Linked DNA regions of Homo sapiens: all the other regions are linked to region 4. Evidence: promoter capture Hi-C in human tissues and cell types (Jung and others, 2019). All regions are on one chromosome and are shown on one strand. Each heading gives the region's core, a stretch centred on a gene start or on the middle of the fragment in contact. The rest is flanking DNA. Distances are from core to core; before and after follow the strand shown.

What was found. Contacts are between HindIII fragments. The study calls those that stand out against the background at their distance.
Region 1: a contact is called between a fragment that was not itself captured here and the fragment with the promoter of KDSR in region 4, in 2 of the 25 tissues and cell types used here (heart left ventricle and spleen).
Region 2: a contact is called between a fragment that was not itself captured here and the fragment with the promoter of KDSR in region 4, in 2 of the 25 tissues and cell types used here (lymphoblastoid cells and spleen).
Region 3: a fragment that was not itself captured here is called in contact with the fragment with the promoter of KDSR in region 4 in 1 of the 25 tissues and cell types used here (dorsolateral prefrontal cortex).

The regions. Positions count from the first base shown.
Region 1 is chr18:62,612,179-62,614,878 of GRCh38, reverse strand. No RefSeq gene overlaps it. Among named protein-coding and RNA genes, the nearest start is that of ZCCHC2, 91 kb to the right of the region's middle. RefSeq lists an enhancer at 2,593-2,700. The HindIII fragment of the contact is 3,993 bases long and covers 1-2,700 here.
Region 2 is chr18:62,682,776-62,685,475 of GRCh38, reverse strand. No RefSeq gene overlaps it. Among named protein-coding and RNA genes, the nearest start is that of PHLPP1, 31 kb to the left of the region's middle. The HindIII fragment of the contact is 4,652 bases long and covers 1-2,700 here.
Region 3 is chr18:62,852,209-62,854,908 of GRCh38, reverse strand. All of the region lies in intron 3 of PHLPP1 (PH domain and leucine rich repeat protein phosphatase 1), which reads right to left. Among named protein-coding and RNA genes, the nearest start is that of PHLPP1, 140 kb to the right of the region's middle. The HindIII fragment of the contact is 4,110 bases long and covers 1-2,700 here.
Region 4 is chr18:63,365,695-63,368,679 of GRCh38, reverse strand. KDSR (3-ketodihydrosphingosine reductase) reads left to right here and starts at 1,474. Exons shown (of 10, transcript NM_002035.4): 1 at 1,474-1,669. The coding sequence starts at 1,562. It overlaps KDSR-DT (KDSR divergent transcript), which reads right to left and starts at 1,356. Exons shown (of 2, transcript NR_186602.1): 1 at 821-1,356. It overlaps LOC124904317 (a long non-coding RNA gene), which reads left to right and starts at 1,680. Exons shown (of 2, transcript XR_007066400.1): 1 at 1,680-2,430. RefSeq lists silencers at 1,102-1,151, 1,262-1,711, 1,782-1,841, 2,192-2,241 and enhancers at 1,103-2,050, 2,090-2,384. The HindIII fragment of the contact is 17,335 bases long and covers 1-2,985 here.

The DNA of each region.
Region 1 (2,700 bases), core at 63-2,562, 750 kb after region 4:
GACATGTAGTTGCCATACTTAGAACAGAAGATGGGGTAAGAAAAGCTGTTCAGGAGGCATGTGTAGTTGCTATGCAGCTTCGGGGAGGAAGCGCTCACAGCATCACACTCTCCTTCAGGCTCCACGAAGCAGCTAGCTCAGCGCCTACTTCTGGATCGTCTACCCTTTGCCAGGTACTAAACTAATGGTTGCCGTGCCATGCTCCAGAGCAGCTATGCACTTCCCTTTAAACCAGTCACATGCGTGTGTGAGCTGGCTGTCTGGGCCTGGGTCTTGAAGAAACTTCCCTCTTTCGGTTCATACACATGTGTGTGCAAGGAGACTGTCGGGGTGAAGAGGCTCTGACACTTTAGGGTGGCATCAGGGGCACAGGCTCTCCCCTAAATTCAACTTCAGAAATACAGATTTAAAACAATTCTTTTGAGAAATATTGCATATCTATGAAACCAAAAAAAAAAAAGGAGAAGAAAAACAAAAGAAAGAAAAAAATCCGGCGGGTGGATCACGAGGTCAGGAGATTGAGACCATCCTGGCTAACATGGTGAAACCCCATCTCTATTAAAAATACAAAAAATTAGCCGGGCGTGGTGGTGGACACCTGTAGTCCCAGCTACTTGGGAGGCTGAGGCAGGAGAATGGCGTGAACCCGGGAGGCAGAGCTTGCAGTGAGCCGAGATTGCACCACTGCACTCCAGCCTGGGTGACAGAGCAAGACTCCATCTCAAAAAAAAAAAAAAAGAAAAAAAAGAAAAAAAAATCCATTTGACATGAAGGGGACTGGATATTCATATATTGCTAGTGGTACTAACAATAGATGTATTCTTTATTTATTTTTTTTTTTTTTGAGACAGAGTCTCACTCTGTCACCCAGGCTGGAGTGCAGTGGTGCGCTCTTGGTTCACTGAAACTTCCAACCCTTGGGTTCAAGCAATTCTCATGCCTCAGCCTCCTGCGTAGCTGGGATTACAGGCATGTGCCACCACGCCTGGCTAATTTTGTATTTTTAGTACAGACAGAGTTTCATCATGTTGGCCAGGCTGGTCTTGAACTCCTGATCTTAGGTGATCCACCTGTCTCGGCCTCCCAAAGTGCTGGGATTATAGGCATGAGCCACCATGCCCGGCTTGCGTATTCTTATAGAAAAGGAATCTGACACTATGTGAGAGGGCATCAAACACTTTAGACCCTTTGATCCAATAGTTTCACTTGGGAAAACGTACCTCAAAATGAAAACACAAAACATTGATTTTCTTTTCTATAAAAAAATCAATTGCAGCACTGTAAAATGAACAATGGGAAACAACCAATACTCCACAATGGGAAAACATTAATTAATAAAATCTTTTTAGCCCCTAGACATCGTGAGAGTACACCAGTAAATGAGAATGTGTAGATGAAATATTTAGTGAAGAAAAGTAGAACATGAAATTATATGTACATACTGATTACAACCTTGTAAGCTGATGGAGATACCAATTTATATCCAAAGAGACTTTTTAGGAAAGGAACAGCTGTTTAGTATTGATGAGATTTTTCTGTAAGTTGTTGGCATTGATATTTTTTTAAGAAGGAAGAGTGAGTATGGCAGGGGTGTTAGTTGAACTATGAGTCTTGAATCTCACTGAGTTTTTTGTTGGTTTATGTTATTGAGAGGCATGGTGCAAGTACTTTGTGACTAAGAGTGAAAGGACCATTCTTTGGTTTATTATAATATATTAATAAACTAGAGGTGATTCAAGTGTCTCTACAATGAAGTCACTACCACACGCTTGCATTTTGAGATGCTTTCTTTAGTGGCGGCAGAAGGGACAGAGCCACTTGCCACTTTGTAGTTATTATTGGCTCCTGGTCCTGCAAGTGTGAATGTCAGCTGTCATTCACATGAGGGAAGTTGGAACTGACGAACTGTCGTGATGTGTATGACAGTCTTGTTCCCTAATCATTAATACCATGCCACCTGATCTCTTCAGTCTCAGAAATAATTACATTTCCTCTTTCCTTCTCATGTGAAAGCCTGCCCACTGGAGTAGGCAGGAGAGTAGGTCCTTCCTACCCCCTCTCTTGCCAACAGGAAGGCCTCTCAGCTAAGATCCCCAAAGGAGCAGTGCCCAGGTGTTCTCTGCAGCTTCCCCGTCTTGACGACCTCCTAGTTATGACATCCACTAAATGCTTTCCTTGAGCTCTCTGCAGCATTGCATGCTGGAACCACTCGTCTCCTTGAAACTTTCCTTGGGGTTATGCCTGACTCTAGCACTTAGGAGAAGCTTATGTAGAAGATCAGGCAAAAAAGGGCTTCCCCTCCGCGGAAGGCTGGCACTTCTGCACTCCCTCGGGGCCACCCTGATACCATGCAGAGAACAGAGTAGAGAGGCAGGGTTCAACCCCCCATGGGGCTGCTTCCCTGCCAGTCTGTCTGGCATCCTAACTCCATAAGGTGGCAGCAGGGCAGGAGATTTCTGACACCAGAGAGACCTGACAGCAAGAAGCCTGCAGAAGCAGCCAGACCCAGCCAGACCCAGACCCAGGATTGAGAGTGGGTCTAGGAACCACTCCTCTGTGCACTTAAGCTGCAGCCAGGCCATTCGGAAGGAAGTAAGGACATTTCCCCCTGGAATCGCCTAGCTTCTGTCAGCTCTGTGTGACATGGATGGAAATACATCCCACTTGCCTTGCTAGCAAAACTCCCCACCCCTGCAGAGT
Region 2 (2,700 bases), core at 110-2,609, 680 kb after region 4:
ATATTTGGAGAGGTTTATTCTGAGCAAATGTGAAGACCATGACTTGTGACACAGCATCGGGCAGTCCTGAGAACATGTGCCCAGGGTGATTGGGTTGCACTGCTTCATTTTATACTTTTTGAGGAAACAGAAGTTACAGGCAGAGACGTAATCTGTACGTGTAAGTTCTAAATTGGTTTGCCCTGGAAAGGGGACATATTGAAGGGCAGGGAGAGGTGGCTTCCAAGACATAGGTGGATTCAAAGATTTCCTGATTGGCAATTGATTGAAAGAGTTAAGCTTTGCCTAAAGAGTTGAAGTCAGCAGAAAGAAATGCTTGGGGCTAAGATAACGGGAGTTGTGGAAGCCAAGAATCTATTACATAGGTTTCAGAGAGAGTAGCTGGTCAATGTCTCTTATCAGAGCTTAAAAGCTATCAGGGGGCCGGGCGCGGTGGCTCACGCCTGTAATCCCAGCACTTTGGGAGGCCGAGGCGGGTGGATCATGAGGTCAGGAGATCGAGACCATCCTGGCTAACAAGGTGAAACCCCGTCTCTACTAAAAATACAAAAAATTAGCCGGGCGCGGTGGCGGGCGCCTGTAGTCCCAGCTACTCAGGAGGCTGAGGCAGGAGAATGGCGTGAACCCGGGAAGCGGAGCTTGCAGTGAGCCGAGATTGCGCCACTGCAGTCCGCAGTCCGGCCTGGGTGACAGAGCGAGACTCCGTCTCAAAAAAAAAAAAAAAAAGCTATCAGGGGCTGGGTGCAGTGGCTCATACCTGTAAACCCAGCGCTTTGGGAGGCCAAGGCTGGTAGATCACATCAGGTCAGGAGTTTAAGACCAGCCTGGCCAACATGGTGAAACCCTGTCTCTACTAAAAATACAAAAATTAGCTGGGCATGGTGGCACACGCCTGTAATTCCAGCTACTCAAGAGGCTGAGTCAGGAGAATCACTTGAACCCGGGAGGCAGAGGTTGCAGTGAGCCTAGGTAGTGCCACTGCACTCCAGCCTGGGTGACAAGAGCGAAACTCCATCTAAAAAAAAAAAAAAAAAAAAAAAAAAGTTATCAGGCTCTTAGTGAAATCTCTTGTGGAACAGGAAAAGACCTGGAAAGAGAAGGAGGCTGTCTGCAGAATGTAAATTTTCCCCACAAGAGATGGCTTTGAAGGGCCATTAAAAAATATGTCAAATAAATATATGTTAGGGTAAAATACTTTGATTTCCTTTAGGGCCTGTTACCTGTCATATGATGTTATCAGTATCTTACTGCTACAGAGAGTCTGTTCTGTCAGTCTGGGATGTGTATGCTAATGTCAATGTTGGTCGGTTGAGTCTGAACTCCAGAAGGGAGAGGGTATAATGAGGCATGTCTGACCCCTGCCTTCCCATTACGGCCTTAACTAGTTTTTCAGGTTTCTTGGAATCCCTTTGGTGGATTCCATGAAACGCAGTTCATTCAGCCGGTTGGGGGACTTAGAATTTTATTTTTGGTTTATAAGAGCTATGGCAGCTTTGAATTATATTACCTTGGGGCTTAGAAGAATTTTCTCAACTGATATACTGATATATTCCAAGCACGAAATTCTTCACTATTATTATCTAAAACCATTTATAATTTATTATTATACATTATTATATTAAACATTATAATTTTCTGTTATAAATATGATTCAGATTGAACTCTCATTTTCTTCCTTGGTGGTATTACTCTGAACTCAGCTGAAGAAAAAGAGTTATATTAGAGTAAAAAATGGGCTGGGCACAGTGGCTCACGCCTGTAATCCCAGCAAATTAGGAGGCCGAGGCAGGCAGATCACTTGAGGTCAGGAGTTCGAGACCAGCCTGGCCAACATGGTGAAACCCCTTCTATAATAAAAATACAAAAAATTAGCCAGGCATGGTGGCTGGCGCCTGTAATCCTAGCTACTTGGGAGGCTGCGGCAGGAGAAATGCTTGCGCCTGGGAGGTGGAGGTTGCAGTGAGCAAAGATTGCACCACGTACTACAGCCTGAGTGACAGAATGAGACTCCATCTCAAAAAAATAAAAATAAAATAAATTAAAAGTAAGATTGGAAGTCAGAGAACAAGAAAATCATAGATGTGGATCTAATGTTTCCTTTGATGAAACTGTCCCCCTCCCGCCTCCCCGTTTCTCTATGTTGGATGCTGCTGAGAGTTCTACATTGTTGGCATAAAGGCTAGAAACCAGTAATAAAATATAATCAGAGCAGAAAGTATTAGAAAAAAAGCCTGGGGAGGAATTTACTTTAAAACAATGTTGCCAGGTTATTTCAGCAGGTAATGTGAGCCACCAATATGTTTTATTTTATGGAAAAGTAGATGATTCAATTCGCACACATGCACATTTATGTATTCAGATACATCCGTTTATTCAGAGGAACATTTAATTTTAGCATGAATTCAAAGAGGTTGAAAGCTGCTTCAAAAGGAGTTTTGAGGACATACCTTAATTAGATGTCCTCATCAACTATCTCCCATTTTTTTCATGTTCCCTGATATGAAGTTGAAAGCATAGTTAGAATTGGAAGTTATAGCATCCCTGCTTTTAGGGGGCTACATATAAAAATTGTGTGATGGCTCATCGTTTAGCAAATTAATAATGCCCTAGTAAATGCACCAGGGCACAGTAAGGCTGGATCAATTTTTACGCAGCCTGCTCTGGAGAGAGCCTTGCTTGAGAACAGCAGGAAACCTTATC
Region 3 (2,700 bases), core at 102-2,601, 510 kb after region 4:
CCTGGCCAACATGGTGAAACCCCTTCTCTACTAAAAATACAAAAATTAACCAGGCGTGGTGGTGGGTGCCTGTAATTCCAGTTACTCAGGAGGCTGAGGCAGGAGAATCACTTGAACCTGGGAGGCGGAGATTGCAGTGAACCAAGATTGAGCCATCACACTCCACCCTGGGTGACAAGAGCGAAACTTCATCTCAAAAAAAAAAAAAAAAAAAAGTAGCAGGATCAGAGTTTGAACAAGAGCCAGTACTATTAACTCTATGCCATCAGGTCAAGACCTGGATCTCATCAGAAGGGAGGCTCCTCTAATCTCCATCATAAAATAACATAACTACAGCAAAGAAAATTAGATGTACTCCTCAGGATATGTTTAAGCCTTAGAAATGAAGACAAGGTGGTCAGAGACAGTGAGTCCTCCTCGGGAGAAGCAGTAGAGACCATCTGCTGACCAAATACAGATTTCCGAGGAGGGGTGAATCCCCATGGGGCATTATTCCTTGACATCATAGGCTCTGCCCACTCCAATCCCACACAACTTATCCAGCTGGGCAACAGTGATGCCATCCAGTGAGCACCTAATCAAAATTTTAAAGGTTACAGGAAAAGTATAAGAGGTTATAGATATTTGGGAAGTGAAACAGGCATATATAGAAAGTGCCTCAAATCTCTGTTACAGAAAGCTTCTAAAGGATCTCAGAATATAAATTCCTTTTGGCAAAAGCTACTGTACTTATAACCACAGACAAGATAGTTGAAGGCACAAAGGTGAGGTCCACACAACTTGACATACAGGAGAAAGGGCACCAGCTTAACAGTATGTGGGGTAGGTAGGAACAGTTCTACTTACTAGCAACGTGACTTTGAATAAGTCACTTCGCTTACCTGTCCTTCAAGTTTCCGTATCTCTAAAATAGACTAAGTCCTGTCTTATAGACTAATAGACCTGCCCTGATCACCTTAACAAGTTGCTGCAGTAATACCATTTTATTCATTTTAAAAAATCAGGAGAGGCTCTGTAGACCAAGTATCTCCACAGCAATGTCTACCACTCCAAGCAATAAAAGTCTATAAAACAAAAAAGACTACGATGTAAGCCAATGCTCTCGTCGTTGAGCAGTTATAAGGATAAACTGCAATTAGCCAGACCATCAATGAACTATAGACGAAGAGATTCAAGTTGTGATCAGTTGAAGGTAACTGTGCCATAGAAAGTCAGTTTTAGTCTGTATTAACAATAACAGGCTGGGGGCAGAGGCTCACGCCTGTAATCCCAGCACTTTGTGGGGCCGAGGGGGGCAGATCACCTGAGGTCAGGAGTTCGAGACCAGCCTGGCCAACATGGGGAAACTCCATCTCTACTGAAAATACAAAAATTAGCTGGGTGGGGTGGCGGGCACCTGTAATCCCAGCTACTCAGGAGGCTGAGGTAGGAGAATCGCTTGAACCCGAGAGGCAGAGGTTGCAGGGAGCCAAGATTGCGCCACTGCACTCCAGCCTGGGCAACAACAGCAAGACTCCATCTCAAAAACAAAACGAAACAAGAACAAAAAAAAAAAAGAAAAAAGAAAAAAAATTAAGGCTAATTGAGTTAGTAAATTAAATGGGACTTTTCTACCACGATGGACACACCCTGAGAGATACATCAAAATGAACATAATTTCCAACTACCTGCTCAGGTGGTCTCTTTTTTTCCCAAATGACTTGTAAATATACATAAGGGAAGGAGGGTTCATTTGGTCCTCAAAATATTTCCTCTAAAGAACACTGCACTATAAAAAATGCTAATGTGAACAACAAAATTTTCAGATGACTCAATGGGTGGCCACACATTTCTAACATATAACTCAGCTTGACACTTTCCTAAGTCATTTCTTTGCCTATTATTAGGACCCTTATGACAAAAACGTCCCTCCTCTGAGTGTAGCTGGGTTGCATTTGTAAACCAATCTATCTGTCCTATCCTTACCCTATCCCTGCCACGCTTTCAAAATTCTCATCTTCCCTTGCAAGAGGACAGTACTCTGCATCATTCCCATTACTCTTCTTGGTTCAGTTAGTGGATAATCGTCTTTCACAGGCAAGGGAAAGTTCACAGTAACATTAATGTGATGATTTTGCCCCCTCTATACTTTAGTAAAGTTGTATTTATCCTTCTTATGTGCATGGCATGCTCAAAATTAACCAGAATGACTCTAAAAGGCTTGGTCAAAGCAGCTGAAATACCACAAATAATTCTGCTTGTGTGAAGTGAAACACTGCTGTCAACCTGCCGGGCATGGTGGCTCACGCCTGTAATCCCAGCACTTTGGAAGGCCGAGGCGGGCGGATCATGATGTCAGGAGATCGAGACCATCCTGGCTAACACAGTGAAACCCCGTCTCTACTAAAAATACAAAAAATTAGCCGGGCGTGGCGGCAGGCGCCTGTAGTCCCAGCTACTCGGGAGGCTGAGGCAGGAGAATGGCATGAACCCAGGAGGCGGAGCTCGCAGTGAGCCGAGATTGGGCCACTGCACTCCAGCCAGGGTGACACAGTGAGACTCCATCTCAAAAAATAAATAAATAAATAAAAATTAATTACATCATATATCTTCATAATGTTCCAATAAAAGCATATCAAAGCTACCAGTTTTATACTTATGAAATTCTACCTGGAATTTCAGAATCTCACCATTTCTTTTTCTTAAATGGTTAAATGAGAT
Region 4 (2,985 bases), core at 225-2,724:
TAAATATTCCTCAATTGATGAATGGAAAATTAAAATGTCGTATAGTCATACAATGGGATATTATTTGGCAATAAAAATAAATGAAGTATTAACATGTAGTACTTCATATCATGGATGAACCTTGAAAACATTACAGTAAGTGAAAGATAGGATGAAAAAGGCTACATATTATATGATTCCATTTATGTGAAATATCCCGAATAGGCAAGATTATAGAGACAGAAACATGAGGGATTGCTTAGGCTTGGGCGGGGCTTGGGAGGAAATGGGTCGTGACTGCCAATGAGTATAGGATTTTGGGGGGTTGTGACAAAAATGTTCTAAAATTTATGGTAGTGATGGGTCTACAACTGTGACTATATTAAAGACAATTTATTATAAGCTTTATTTATTTATTTATTTTTGAGACGGAGTCTTGATCTGTCACCCAGGCTGGAGTGCAGTGGCGCGATCTCACCGCAATCTCTGCCTCCCGGGTTCAAGCGATTCTCCTGCCTCAGCCTCCAGGGTAGCTGGGATTACAAGCATACGCCACCATGCCCGGGTGATTTTTTGTATTTTTAGTAGAGACGGGGGTTTCACCATCATGGCCAGGCTGGTCTCGAACTCCAGACCTGAAGAGATCCGCCCGCCTCAGCCTCCCAAAGGTCGGGGATTACAGGCGCGAGCTACCTCGCCCGGCCTATTACGCACGTTAAATCGGGAATTGTATGGTATAGTACGTGAATGAGACCTTAATAAAGCTGAGTTGTTTGCGTTATTTATTTGTTTTGAACCTGCTTGGTAAAGATGAACTCTGAACTCAATGAAATTGAATTACCTTAGTGATTCCTCAAAACTCCCTGTTAAGGCTTTCCGGTCCTCTGAAAAGCGAAAGTGGGCCGTGACCATCTTCTAAAAACGCCAAAAAATATGGAATGGAGCCCGGGATTTCAGAGCGTAGTCGCTGGGCTCCCAGGCTGAGCCCGCTCCGGGAGCCTCCAGCCGCCCTTTCCGATGCTCCGGGGCCTCCGAGCAACCCAGCGGGCAGTCCCAAGCCGAGGGCTGAACTCCAGGGAGGAGCGCTCGTCACGCCCACACTGGAGGCCGTGGCAGGCCTGGAAACCCGCCCTGCGGGGTCCTAAGAAGCCATTCGAGCTCCCGAAGAGCGAGTCTTCGCAGCCCTTCCCGGCGCGCTCGCATCTGGCGCTGTCCGGAGCCCGCTCGCGACGCACAGGGACGGGAGGCCCGGTTTCCACGGGAGAGGCTGCGGACTGCGGGCCCCGTCCCGAGGCCGGGGGAGTGGGAGACACCCGGCGACCCCCGAGAGGCGATTCTGGCAGTGGTGGCGGTGGCGGTGGCGGTGGCGGCCTACTCGCCCCCTGGAAGCACCGCCCCGCCTGGGTGGCGCGCGCGCCGGCTCCTCCTCTTCCCCTCCGCCGCGGCCCGCCCCGGCCCGCAAACCCAAACACTCCAGGCGCCCGCCCGCCGCGCGTGATTCTCGCCTCGCCGCAGCCCAGCCCTGCGCGCCTTGCCCGGCGGCCCCCGCCCGGCCGCTCCGGGCCCCTGGCCCCGCGGAGCGATGCTGCTGCTGGCTGCCGCCTTCCTCGTGGCCTTCGTGCTGCTGCTGTACATGGTGTCTCCGCTCATCAGCCCCAAGCCCCTCGCCCTGCCCGGGGCGCATGTGGTGGTGAGTGGCCTCCTGTTGCTGCCCCCCGACTTACCGGCCCGCGCGGCCTTTCCGCCGCCGAGGCCGCGTAGCCTACGTCCCTTTTTCCAGGCCGCGGTCCCCAGGAAGGCATGGCCAAATGGGGAAGGTCACCTGCCGCCGTCCACCCCGGCGCTTTTCCCCCGGCCCCGGCACCCGGCCTCGCGGACCCGCCCTCCGCAGCCTCGGGCTCCTCCTAGGGCCGGAGAGCGTGCGACGGGGGACCCCGCCGGCCGCAGGGTTCCCGGGGCCCCAGGGGTTCTGTGGCTGCTCGTGAATCCATGCAACATCCCTGGGATGTGGATGTTTTGTCCTCAGTTTTTCCGATGAGTCAACTGAGGCACAGAGAGGCTGAGAAACTTTGCCAAGGACACAGCGGTCGGTGGTGTGCAGGGTGCGGCGCGCGGCCCCGGGCGGGGGCAGACAGCGGGGAAGTGGGGTCCCAGCCGCCGGGACCCGCCGAGGCAGCTCGGAACTGGAAGATGGCCTGTGCGAGTGACGGGAAGAGCCGCTGCCAGAGGATTCCAGGAAGTGACTCACCTGGGGAAACTGCTCAGAACCCAGCGGGCTGGCGGTGGTGGCTTAGCGGTATTGGGACGCCTGTCCCGTCTACACTGCTTGTCTCTGAGCTCAGCGTGGCATCTGCTGATTGCTGCTCCAATGCAATCCTTTGCTGTTTTCTAGTGGGAAGGATGAGCTAAACGACAAGGCTTGTGTGCGAGGAATGAAGGAGAGGTGGATAGGTGTGATTTATTTCTTGGCGGAAGCTCGCATATTCAGCGATCCCTGTTCTGCAAATGTGGCACCTTTCTTAAACAGAGAGAATGCCTCCTTGCCTGCGCCCAGCACTTTCCCGTTTGCAGTGGCTTTCTCACGAGCATTCTCGTTTGGATCTCCCAAACCCGAGGCACAGTGAGGCGAGGAGTTAGGAGTAAGGAGGGTTGGTTACAAAATTGGCCGCACACCTCTTCCTGTCCTATCTCTGCACCGGAGATCCGAGCCTCCCCGCTGAGCTGGTATAAAATAAGATGGTCGTTTTTCTTAGTATGCTTTAAATCTGTACAAGGGTTTGTGAATGAGAAAATGTATCTGTTTAATTTCTCCTTTGTAAAGCTATTAGCTTTTTCCAACACCTCCTGTTCCTAATGGGGAAAGAGTGTGGATTCATTACAAAAAATAAATAAGAGAAAGGCAAAACTTGACACTCTAAATTCTGAAAGTTTTACATCCGCAAGAGAACTGCTGCCTCAAAAGCGTGGCTTTAAACCTTGGATCCTTTCAGAGCTTGAGTTTATAGA